Regions from separate parts of the Homo sapiens genome. Here region 1 is linked to region 2. The links are contacts of gene promoters, found by promoter capture Hi-C in human tissues and cell types (Jung and others, 2019). All regions are on one chromosome and are shown on one strand. Each heading gives the region's core, a stretch centred on a gene start or on the middle of the fragment in contact. The rest is flanking DNA. Distances are from core to core; before and after follow the strand shown.

Region 1 (5,066 bases), core at 119-2,618, 110 kb after region 2:
TGTCACCTAGGCTAGAGTGCAGTGGCATGATCTTGGCTCACTAAAACGTCCATCTCCTGGGCTCAAGCAATCCTCTCACCTTAGCCTCCCAAGTAGCTGGGACTACAGGTGCACGCCACCACATCTGGCTAATTTTTGTATTTTTTTTGTAGAGACAGTGTTTCACCATATTGCCCAGGCTGGTCTTGAGCTCCTGGACTCAAGCAATCCACCTGCCTCAGCCTCCCAAAGTGCTGGGATTACAGGCATGGGCTACTGCAGCTGGTAATCAATTTATTTTTGACAAGAATGTTAAGACAATTCAATGAGGAAAAAACAGTCTTTTCAACAAATGGTGCTGGGACAACTGCATATCCACATGCAAAACAATAAAGCTGGACCTCTACCTCATGCCATATATAAAAAGTAACTCAAATTGGATTACAGACTAAATGTGAGCTAAAATTATAAAACTATTAGACAAATACATAGAATTAAATTATCATTACTGGAGTTAGGCAATAATTTCTTAAATATGATGCCAAAAGCAGAAACCACAAAAGAAAAAAAAGATAAACTGGACTTCATTAAACTTAAAAACCTTTGTGCTTCAAGGAACATCATGAAGAAAGTGAAAAGGTAATCTATAGAATGACAGAAAATATTTGCAAATCAGATCTCTGATAAGGGACTTGTGCCTCTGATAAGGCATATTAAAAGAAAACTCTTAAAACTCTATAATAAAAGACAACCCCATTAAAAATGGTCAAATAACTTTAATAGACATTCCCCAAAAAAGATACACAGATGACCAAAAAATCAAAAGCATAGGAGTCACTACCTCGGACTCACCAGGTTGGCTGTAATAAAAAAGATAACATGCTGATAAGAACGTGTGGGAATCTTAACCCTCACACATTTTTGTTAGGAATGTAAAACGGTGCAAATGATTTTGTAAACAGTCTGGGAGTTCTTCAAAATGTTGAGTTACCATGTGACCCAGAAATTGAAGGCTAACTAGAAGCCATGTTCAGAAACATGACAACCCCGAGGACGGCACCAGCAGGCACTCAGTGGAGACTCTGCTTTTGCTCCAGGCAAACAGGATGTTCCAAGGGACCAAGGGAGGCCAGCATCTGCTGTAAGCACACAACCCATTTAGAAGATGAAGAGTTAAGAACTCAGGGAAGGCTCATGCCTCATCACTGCTGGGCCTTACAGAGGAGGCACAGGATATGAGGTTTGGTCCAACCCAGCTGGCAGGGCTGGCTTTTCCAGTTAAAATGGACCCAACAGTGTTGGCTGGGTAAGGAGGACAGAGGGCAGGCACTCCGAACAGGGTAGAACTTGCCTTCCCTCACATGCCTGTCTCCACCCTGACCCCAAACTACAAAAGTCCTCAGTCCTCCTTCTCTAATTCAGAAACCAAAACTGTATATGAATGATATTTCTGGAGTCACAGGGCTCTGGCAATATAAACCTATTTTCATTATTCAACTTCTATACTGAAGGATAACTCATCACCATTAACACGATTATGTCTTACCTTCCAGGTTAAAAGATATTACAAACATAAAATTTTCTTGATACCTAAGAGGTCTATCTAAATTTACCATACGTTTAAACAAATCAGAGCATGAATGACTCTAGAAGGTATGAAAGTCTTTTTCTGTCTAAAACAAAAATCCAAAATCCTTTTGGCCTGCCTGACTGCCTGGGCCCTGATTCAGTATGTTCTGGACAAACCTCCTCATCATGTGAGGTTCTCTCACTGTCGGCACAAACAGGGCTCATGTTTGGTGTGTGCTTCAAAGCTGGATATCTGTCTTCATGCCCTGAATTAAATCATAAGCTTCCCAATTGAAAGTGACCGTCCAAGGCCGGGTGCGGTGGCTCACGCCTGTAATCCCAGCACTTTGAGAGGCCGAGGCGGGCGGATCACGAGGTCAGCAGTTCAAGACCAACCTGGCTAACACGGTGAAACCCCATCTCTACTAAAAATACAAAAAATTAGCCGGGCGTGATGGCGGGCGCCTGTAGTCCCAGCTACTTGGGAGGCTGAGGCAGGAGAATGGCGTGAACCTGGGAGGCGGAGGTTGCAGTGAGCCGAGATCGCGCCACTGCTCTCCAGCCTGGTCGACAGAGTGAGACTCCGTTTCAAAAAAAAAAGAAAGTGACAGTCCAAGCCCCTGCACTGAAGGCTCAGAGAGGGTGAAAGACTTGCCCAAAAGCTACAGAGAAACTTGATTCCAGGCTGGAACTAAGACCCTCATTTCCTGACTCTGGCCCAGTGCTCCAACTGTGTAGGCATTCTTCTTACCACTGAAAACATAGTCCCCTGCTGGTTTCATCTTAAACTCAGTCAGCTACTAGTGACTAAAAAACTTTAGGATGTCACGCTTTTGCTGATCAAAGTGCAGCTCTGGCTCAGAACCATCCCCAAGGAACTGCGGCACCGTTTCTCAGTCTACGCACGAAGCAGCCATCACCGCATGTTGGACTCATGTCTGCTTTTCCTTTACAAAGGGTCCAAAATAATGAAGAGGAGAATTTTAACAGTATTTTCTTGTCACCTAGGTCCTTTCACACTAGGGAGGACCCTTAGGGCCTGGACCCACGTGCTGTTCTTCAACAAACCAAAGGGAGGGAAGCTCCTGGCCATTTCCATCACTCATGCAAAGGCCCATTGCCATGTTAAAGTTCTCATAGCTGCTTGGGGCATGAGATGCACATACATGATTTTTAATCTTTAAGCCACTTGGGAGATGTAGCATCCCCTTTATAGAGGCAGACAACTGAATGTCCCCTTCACAGTTATCCTGCTCACTCTCTGCCACAGTGCTGGCTCGATTCCCTCCCAGCTCACCTCCCCCTTCAGGCTGGTTTTCACAAAAAAGCAAAATTAAACTTGAAGGGCAAATGTTTCTGACACTGCATTTCTATTGTCCTTTGTCATTTCCTCAAAATACTCTTGCTGTTTTTTAAAAGCATTCTTTTTCTCTTTTGCACCCAAATCAAGACAGTGTTGCCTGAAGTAGTTGGAGAAGCGTGGGAAAGTAGCCATCCTGGGGAAACCAGCAAGTTTCAATGTAGATGCCCCCTCCCACATGTACAACACATACAAAGAGGAAAGTCCAGGTCTAGTGTGACACCCAAGGTGCTGCCAGAGGACAAGGAGATCAGAGCACACCTAGTCATCTCTGGGCCGGCTCACGAGGGCCCCACACACGGATGTCTAACTCTGCACATCACCCCACCACAAAGAAAACCACTGTAATGTGTAGGAAGACATTCTTCCAGGCTTCTTTAACATGTATGGTTTTTAAAAATTAGGATCATACACTGTTATATTTTTCTTTATGGTTTGAATAGGGCTATATAACCACATAGCTCAATATTCAAAAGGTATTTAGTGAAATCTCCAGCTACCCAGCCCCCTCCCCACAGGTAACCAATGACTTCAGTTTTTTTTTTTTTTTTTTTTTTTTTTTTTTTTTTTTAGACGGAGTTTCTCTCTTTGTTGCGCAGGCTGGAGTGCAATAGTGTGATCTTGGCTCACCGCAACCTCCGCCTCCTGGGTTCAGGCGATTCTCCTGCCTCAGCCTCCTGAGTAGCTGGGATTACAGGCATGTACCACCACGCCCAGCTAATTTTGCATTTTTAGTAGAGACGGGGGTTCCTCCATGTTGGTCAGGCTGGTCTCGAACTCCCGACCTCAGGTGATCCGCCTGCCTTGGCCTCCCAAAGGGCTGGGATTACAGGCTTGAGACTTAGCTTTTAATGTGCCCTTCTAGAGATATCTTATGCATACGAAAGCAAACAAATGTGAATTGTCTCTATCTTCCCTCTTTTCTAAACAATGGTAGCACACTACCAACACCGGTCTACTTCATGCTTTTTTCACTTAATTGTATATTTTGAAAACAGTCTTTTGCTGGATGTTCCTAGTTCTACTGGGGCAGTACCCCTGATTCACAGATGACCCTGAACCGGAGAAAGATTACATCTGTTAATTATAATGTGCCCCCAGAGATGTGACAGACTGTTGTCACACTGGCCAGCAAAGAACCAGGCTGAAGACCCAGGCATTAATTTATCAGTCAAAATTTGCTGAGGAGCAGGTCACCTCCCAGACCCCAAGCAGCCACAAATTTAAAATTTTTAATTGCCATATTACGAGTGGCAGGAAACTGCTGCGGCTTACCACTGACTACAATCACATAGCAGGCACTTGAATCTTCACTGAATTAATGAATTAAACCTGTTGACCAGAGTTTTTGTTTATTTGCTTTTTGGAGACAGGGTCTTATTCTGTTGCCCAGGCTGCAGTGCAGTGTGGCTCACTGCAGTCTCAACCTCCCAGGCTCTAGCAATCCTCCCACCGCAGCCTCTCCAGTAGCTAGAACTATAAGCTCACAACCACCACACCCAGCTAATTAAAAAATATATATGTATTTGTAGAGACAGTCTCACCATGTAGCTAGGGCTAGTCTTGAATTCCTGGGGTCCAGTGATCCTCCTGCCTCAGCCTCCCAAATTGCTGGGATGACAGGCATGGCCTGGCTTGACCAGTTTTAAAATAAAACTCTAGAATTTTATTAAACTGACATTGGCTGACAATGTCACAAAACAGAAAGACAGGACAAGGTTTGAGCACAAAGTCATGAAATGTGTTCCATGTCCCTTATAGAGCAATGAGTCCCACCAGTCCGGCCCTGTGGACATTGCATTTGCCATAATCTTCCCCCATCTGGAGCCAAATGTCAGCATGCAGGTGAAGATGTTTTCAAGCAACAAAAACAGGGAGGCAATGTTTCAAATACTTGCACACGGGTGACAAGAGGCAAGGCTGTGTTTTCTTGCAAAAGGCTTTGCTTCCAAATGACTCAAGAAGGAAGCACTGAATTGCTCTGACCAGCTCCCTTCTTCTGGTCAAACTTGAGTGGCAGCCACTGGGTCACACACACCAGGTAGTGTTCCACACTGGCGACTGCAAGGCAGGCACTGCGTCTGTTGCAGGCCAGTGGATTCTCCTGAGAGTCTGAGGACTTCCCACTCACTCCCCACCCCACATCCTTCCCTTCAGC
Region 2 (4,488 bases), core at 1,509-4,008:
GGGAATGTCAAGAAGTACCTACCATATTTTGACTGTGTGTGTGTGTGTGTGTGTGTGTGTGTGTGTGTTCAGGGAGATCTTTCTGGGAGAGAGGCCGGTAGAGTTCAGCCTTGAATGGCAATGGAATGAAAATTAGCTCAGGGGTTGGGACAGGAGTCCCATGAACAAACACCGTGTGGTGTTTACAGGCTGGGGACTGACTGGTCAGCTTTGGAGAATTTGTGTGTCGTGCTCACCAGCTGGGCTTGATTCCTGGGGGATTTTGAGTGATTGCAGCAAGAAGGGAAGGACAGTCAGGTTCACTCTCTAAAAGGGCTGACTGGGGAAAGTACCTGAGGCACCAAGCTGGAGGTAAGGTGGTGGGAGCCTGTGCAGGTGTTACAGGCAGGAGATGACCTGAATGCAGGTAGTGATAGTGCGGCTGCAGATGAGGGAAGAGATCTGACGAATATTTGGGATATAAAATTGGAAAACTGGAGATGGGGAACACACTGCTTGCTGTAGGAGAGGCTGTTGAGGAGAGAATGATGGGCTCAGATTTGAACGTTTTGAATCTGAGTTGCCTGTGGGACTCTGAAGTGGAGCTGCCCCCTTTGGCAGCCAGAAAAATAAAACTGAAACGTAGGAAAGAGATGGAGATACTGGTTTGGAATTGACATAACAAGGTTTGAATCTGTGGTCGAAATTAACAAGGGAGAAAATGCAGAAAAAAATGAAAGGCGTGGGAGTTCCAATACCCAGCACGGTGCCTGGCACACAGGAAGCGAGTGGCGCATATGTGCTGCACCGTGAAGGAAAAAGTCAGCAGGATCCCAGAGAACACCGCGTTCAAGGATGGGCCGGGAAGAGATGCAGGCGAAGATGAGGAAACAGTTCGTGAATATGGAGATGAAAGAGCCCGTCTGGGGAGTAGTGGGTGTGGGGGGGGGCGGCTTTGTGGGGGGAGGTCTGTAGATTAGGAAACAGTTCCCGAGTTTGGAGATTAAAGAGCCCGTTTGAGGAGTAGTGGTGGTGGGGCGGCTTTGTTGCGGGAGGTCTGTAGGAAAGGGGGATTGGTCTGTAGTAACAAATGGAAGATAGATACAGAAAGACGAGGCCTAAAATCTGTTTTGGGCTCAGCAATTAGGAGGGCGCTGGTGACCAAGGCGTTTCTGCAGAGTGGTGAGGGTGGGGGCGAGAGGCGTGCAGGGGGCTGAGGAGACAGACACAGGGACTGCTGTTTTGAGAAATGTGATAAAATGAGAGGTCACTAGAGGATCAATGGGAGACTGCAGGCTTTAACTACACTTTTCATCCCACCCATAATTTTGCAAGGAAGATATATAGGGACATCACACCCATTTACCACTGTAACTCAAAGTAAAATCTTAACTTGTCAGCAAACATAAAGGGCAAACTCTACTTCAATTATGACTTGTATTCATGTAGGAAAAAAGCAAATTTTGGTCAGGTCATATCGGCCCACCATTTAACACAGTTTTAAAACGAATATGGACATTAATTTAGTGCCTATTATGTGTTTAGTCACTGGGCTAAACTGAGCAGAAGGCTCCCATTGAGAGGGAAAAGCTGAAATTATGGACGAGCGGATGGTGACAAGGAGGCTCTGGAGAGGGCGGTGGGCGGAAGGCCCAGCCTGGGCACGGCCTCTGCCCCGCGGTGGCTGGAGTGGGCCTCAGGGCTGGAGGCTGGCGGCGGGTTGCAGGGGCTCGGCGCTCTGGAAGGAGACGTGGCCTTGTGCTGAAAGGGGCACGTGTCCTGCAGACGGCTTCGCCAAGAAGGAACTGCCTGGAACAGCCACTGAGGGCGCGGCTGAGTTAGGGTCAGGGGAAGGAACACTGGAGGGGAGTTAGGGTCAGAGTCAGGGTTAGTGCTAGGTGAGGTTCAGGTGCAGGGTCAGAATTAGGGTTAAGGTTAGGGGCACTGGGGGAGGCGCCTGCGCTGCCCTCGTGGTTACTCCCACGTGCTCTGGGGCACGAGGGCGTCCGCCAGAGGCCTGGGGACTCCACGGAACGAAGACCTAGAGCCATTTTGAAAGCCCTACGCCATGTTTCCACTAATTTTGTGGAATAAATTATTATTGCTACACAATTGATAAACACCTGTGCAAAAATGAACTTTTAGGTTAAGAGTTTATACAAATGTATGCAATTAACCCTCTCCCCACACAACTTGTAGTAGATCTAAAAATCAGAATTCTCAAGAGAAGGTGTGATCACTTTCCCACAGGAATGATGAAGTCAGGAGACCCCAGCTAGTCGGTTCACCAGGATATGCCAATCATGGCACACTTGTCCCAGTTCTGGGAGCCAAAGTTTTGTCTTCCAATGGCAAGGCAGCATTATCACAGTTGGGCTCCCATTGGCTCTGAGATGTGGGCGGGGTCACCACTCCTGGAGCTGCCACTAGCTCCACCCCATTCCATGCAAATGAAGTCAAAGCTGTGGTGAGTCCACGTGATTAGTCACATGGTTGATGACACACTCTCCCCACCCCTTTAGTGACGTCATTGCCCACTCAAACTCTCACGAGAGTTTGCACAGATGTGGAAAGGAGCTGGCAGGGCAGTTCCCTGGGACAGAAGGGAGTCAGGGGGTCCAACAGGGGCCCCCCACTGCCACCCCAGAGCCTCCAGTCCATCTTTAGCCAGGGGCCCCGGGGGGCCTGTGGGAAGTGCCAGGGGCCCCCAAGCACACTCTGCTCTCATTGGCTGGCTGCGCCTACATGCAAATGAGGGCCAACGTCACTTCCTGAGGCCAATCGAGCGCCATTTTCTCTTTCTGGCTGCGCGGGAGGAGGGGACCAGTCGCGCTGGGGGTGGGCGCGCGCTGAGGCGGGGGTCCCGCCGCGCGGGGCGGAGGCGCGGGCGGGCGCAGGCGGCCCCACGGGACGCGGCTGCGCTCGGCGGAAGACGCGGCAGCCCTGCGAGAGGCAGCAGCGGAGACGCGGTGCTCCTCGGGCGCCAAGCGGTAGGTACGGCCCGGCCCGGCGCGGGCCCGCGCGGCGACGCCCCCTGCCCCGGTCCTGGCCCCCGCCCCAGTCTGGTCCCCTCCGAGCCCCGCCCCCGCCGGTACCCAGCCCACACCCACGCCCGCCGCCTGCCCTCGCGCCGCCCGTGGCCGCCTCGGGAATCCCGGGACGTTCTCAGGGCGCGGGTTCGCGGCCCGAACGGCGCCCGTCGACCCCCGACGCGCCCGCGGCCCGCCCCGCCCGCCGCCGGTCACGTGGGAGCGGGGGCCGCCCCGGGAGGGCGGAGAAGGGGATGGGGACCTGAGGGGAGAGTAGGAATAGGGGAAAGACGAGGACGGGGACCGAGGGAGAGAGGGGGGCTGGTGAAGGGAGCGAGGAGTAGAGGGAGAGGGAACGGGGATGGAGAAGAAGAGAGGGGGCAAGGAGCTGTGGCGACCCCTGTAAGGACTCCAGAAACGCCCCGCCCGCTGGCCCGCCCGCCGCATCCCCGAGACCGGGTTCTCCTGGAAGCTTCTCTCTGGAGGAGCCTTGAGTGACGGCAGATGTAGGTCAGGAGCTGACGGTGACACCTAAATCTGCCCAGGTTTTTTTTTCCCTAGAAAGGTTTGAAGAACAGCTGATAACGGGGCCCTGTTTCTTCATCGTTGAGCTTTTGATGCGAATATCAATAATTGATATACAGATGTTGACTTTAACATTACTTTTCATCTGCCGTTGCTGGTTGCATTGAAATAGATTCCGTTTACAAAATTTCTACTACAGTTGACTTTGGAATGTTAATTTTAACTGCCCTTTTAAATACTGTACAGATGCAGAATGAGAAATAATTAGATATTTTAAGTAGTTTATTTGAACAGAAGACTTGCCTGCGTGCTTAAAACTTACTCTATTTGCACGGGTAATCACTGCCTCTTGGGATCTTGAGGAATATACTGGCTGTGGAGGAGTGGGGTGGGGGAGGAGAAACTGGTAAGCAGGTAACTGACAATGCAGATTGGCAAGTGGGGCAGCAGTTTGTAGAGTACTGTGGGCATCTGCCACGCAGAGCCTTTATCAAAAGAGGGGGTTTGGAGTCTGGGTACCATTTTTGGGGGTGAGGAGCATTAGTGGGAGAGAGGACCACATGTAAAAAGAGTTGTGTAAAGTACATGTTCAGCTGTATTTGGAAGTCGGTAATGTATGTGTAACTTATTTAAAGATGTTCTTGGAGAGTTGGCCATGTATGAGTGTGTATTAATATTTCGGTTAAATTTCGGTTGGAGTTAGGACTTCACTGCGAAGACAGCATTGAGCCCGTCGTCCTTAAACATGAAGTGACAGATGTGTGTTAAGAAAGGAAGTACAAGAGTGAAGATGAGACAAGAGGTTGTCCTACCGGCCCTCTAGTTGAGGGGAGGAACAGTGAGGGTTAGGACATGTCTGAAAGGAGTTGATCACTGTTTATGGGGGAAGATGACAGCTATGCTAAGATTTTTAGCTGAAGAGATTCTGGGATTTGGGAGACACGTTTTTAATTTG

What was found. Contacts are between HindIII fragments. The study calls those that stand out against the background at their distance.
Region 1: a fragment that was not itself captured here is called in contact with the fragment with the promoter of ADNP2 in region 2 in 2 of the 25 tissues and cell types used here (hippocampus and mesenchymal stem cells).

Annotation. Positions count from the first base shown.
Region 1 is chr18:80,222,709-80,227,774 of GRCh38, forward strand. The region is part of intron 1 of PARD6G (par-6 family cell polarity regulator gamma); the gene reads right to left. Among named protein-coding and RNA genes, the nearest start is that of PARD6G, 22 kb to the right of the region's middle. The HindIII fragment of the contact is 7,222 bases long and covers 1-4,979 here.
Region 2 is chr18:80,106,504-80,110,991 of GRCh38, forward strand. ADNP2 (ADNP homeobox 2) reads left to right here and starts at 2,759. Exons shown (of 4, transcript NM_014913.4): 1 at 2,759-2,969. RefSeq lists enhancers at 1,182-1,683, 2,510-3,011 and silencers at 2,821-2,980, 3,181-3,280. The HindIII fragment of the contact is 8,526 bases long and covers 1-4,488 here.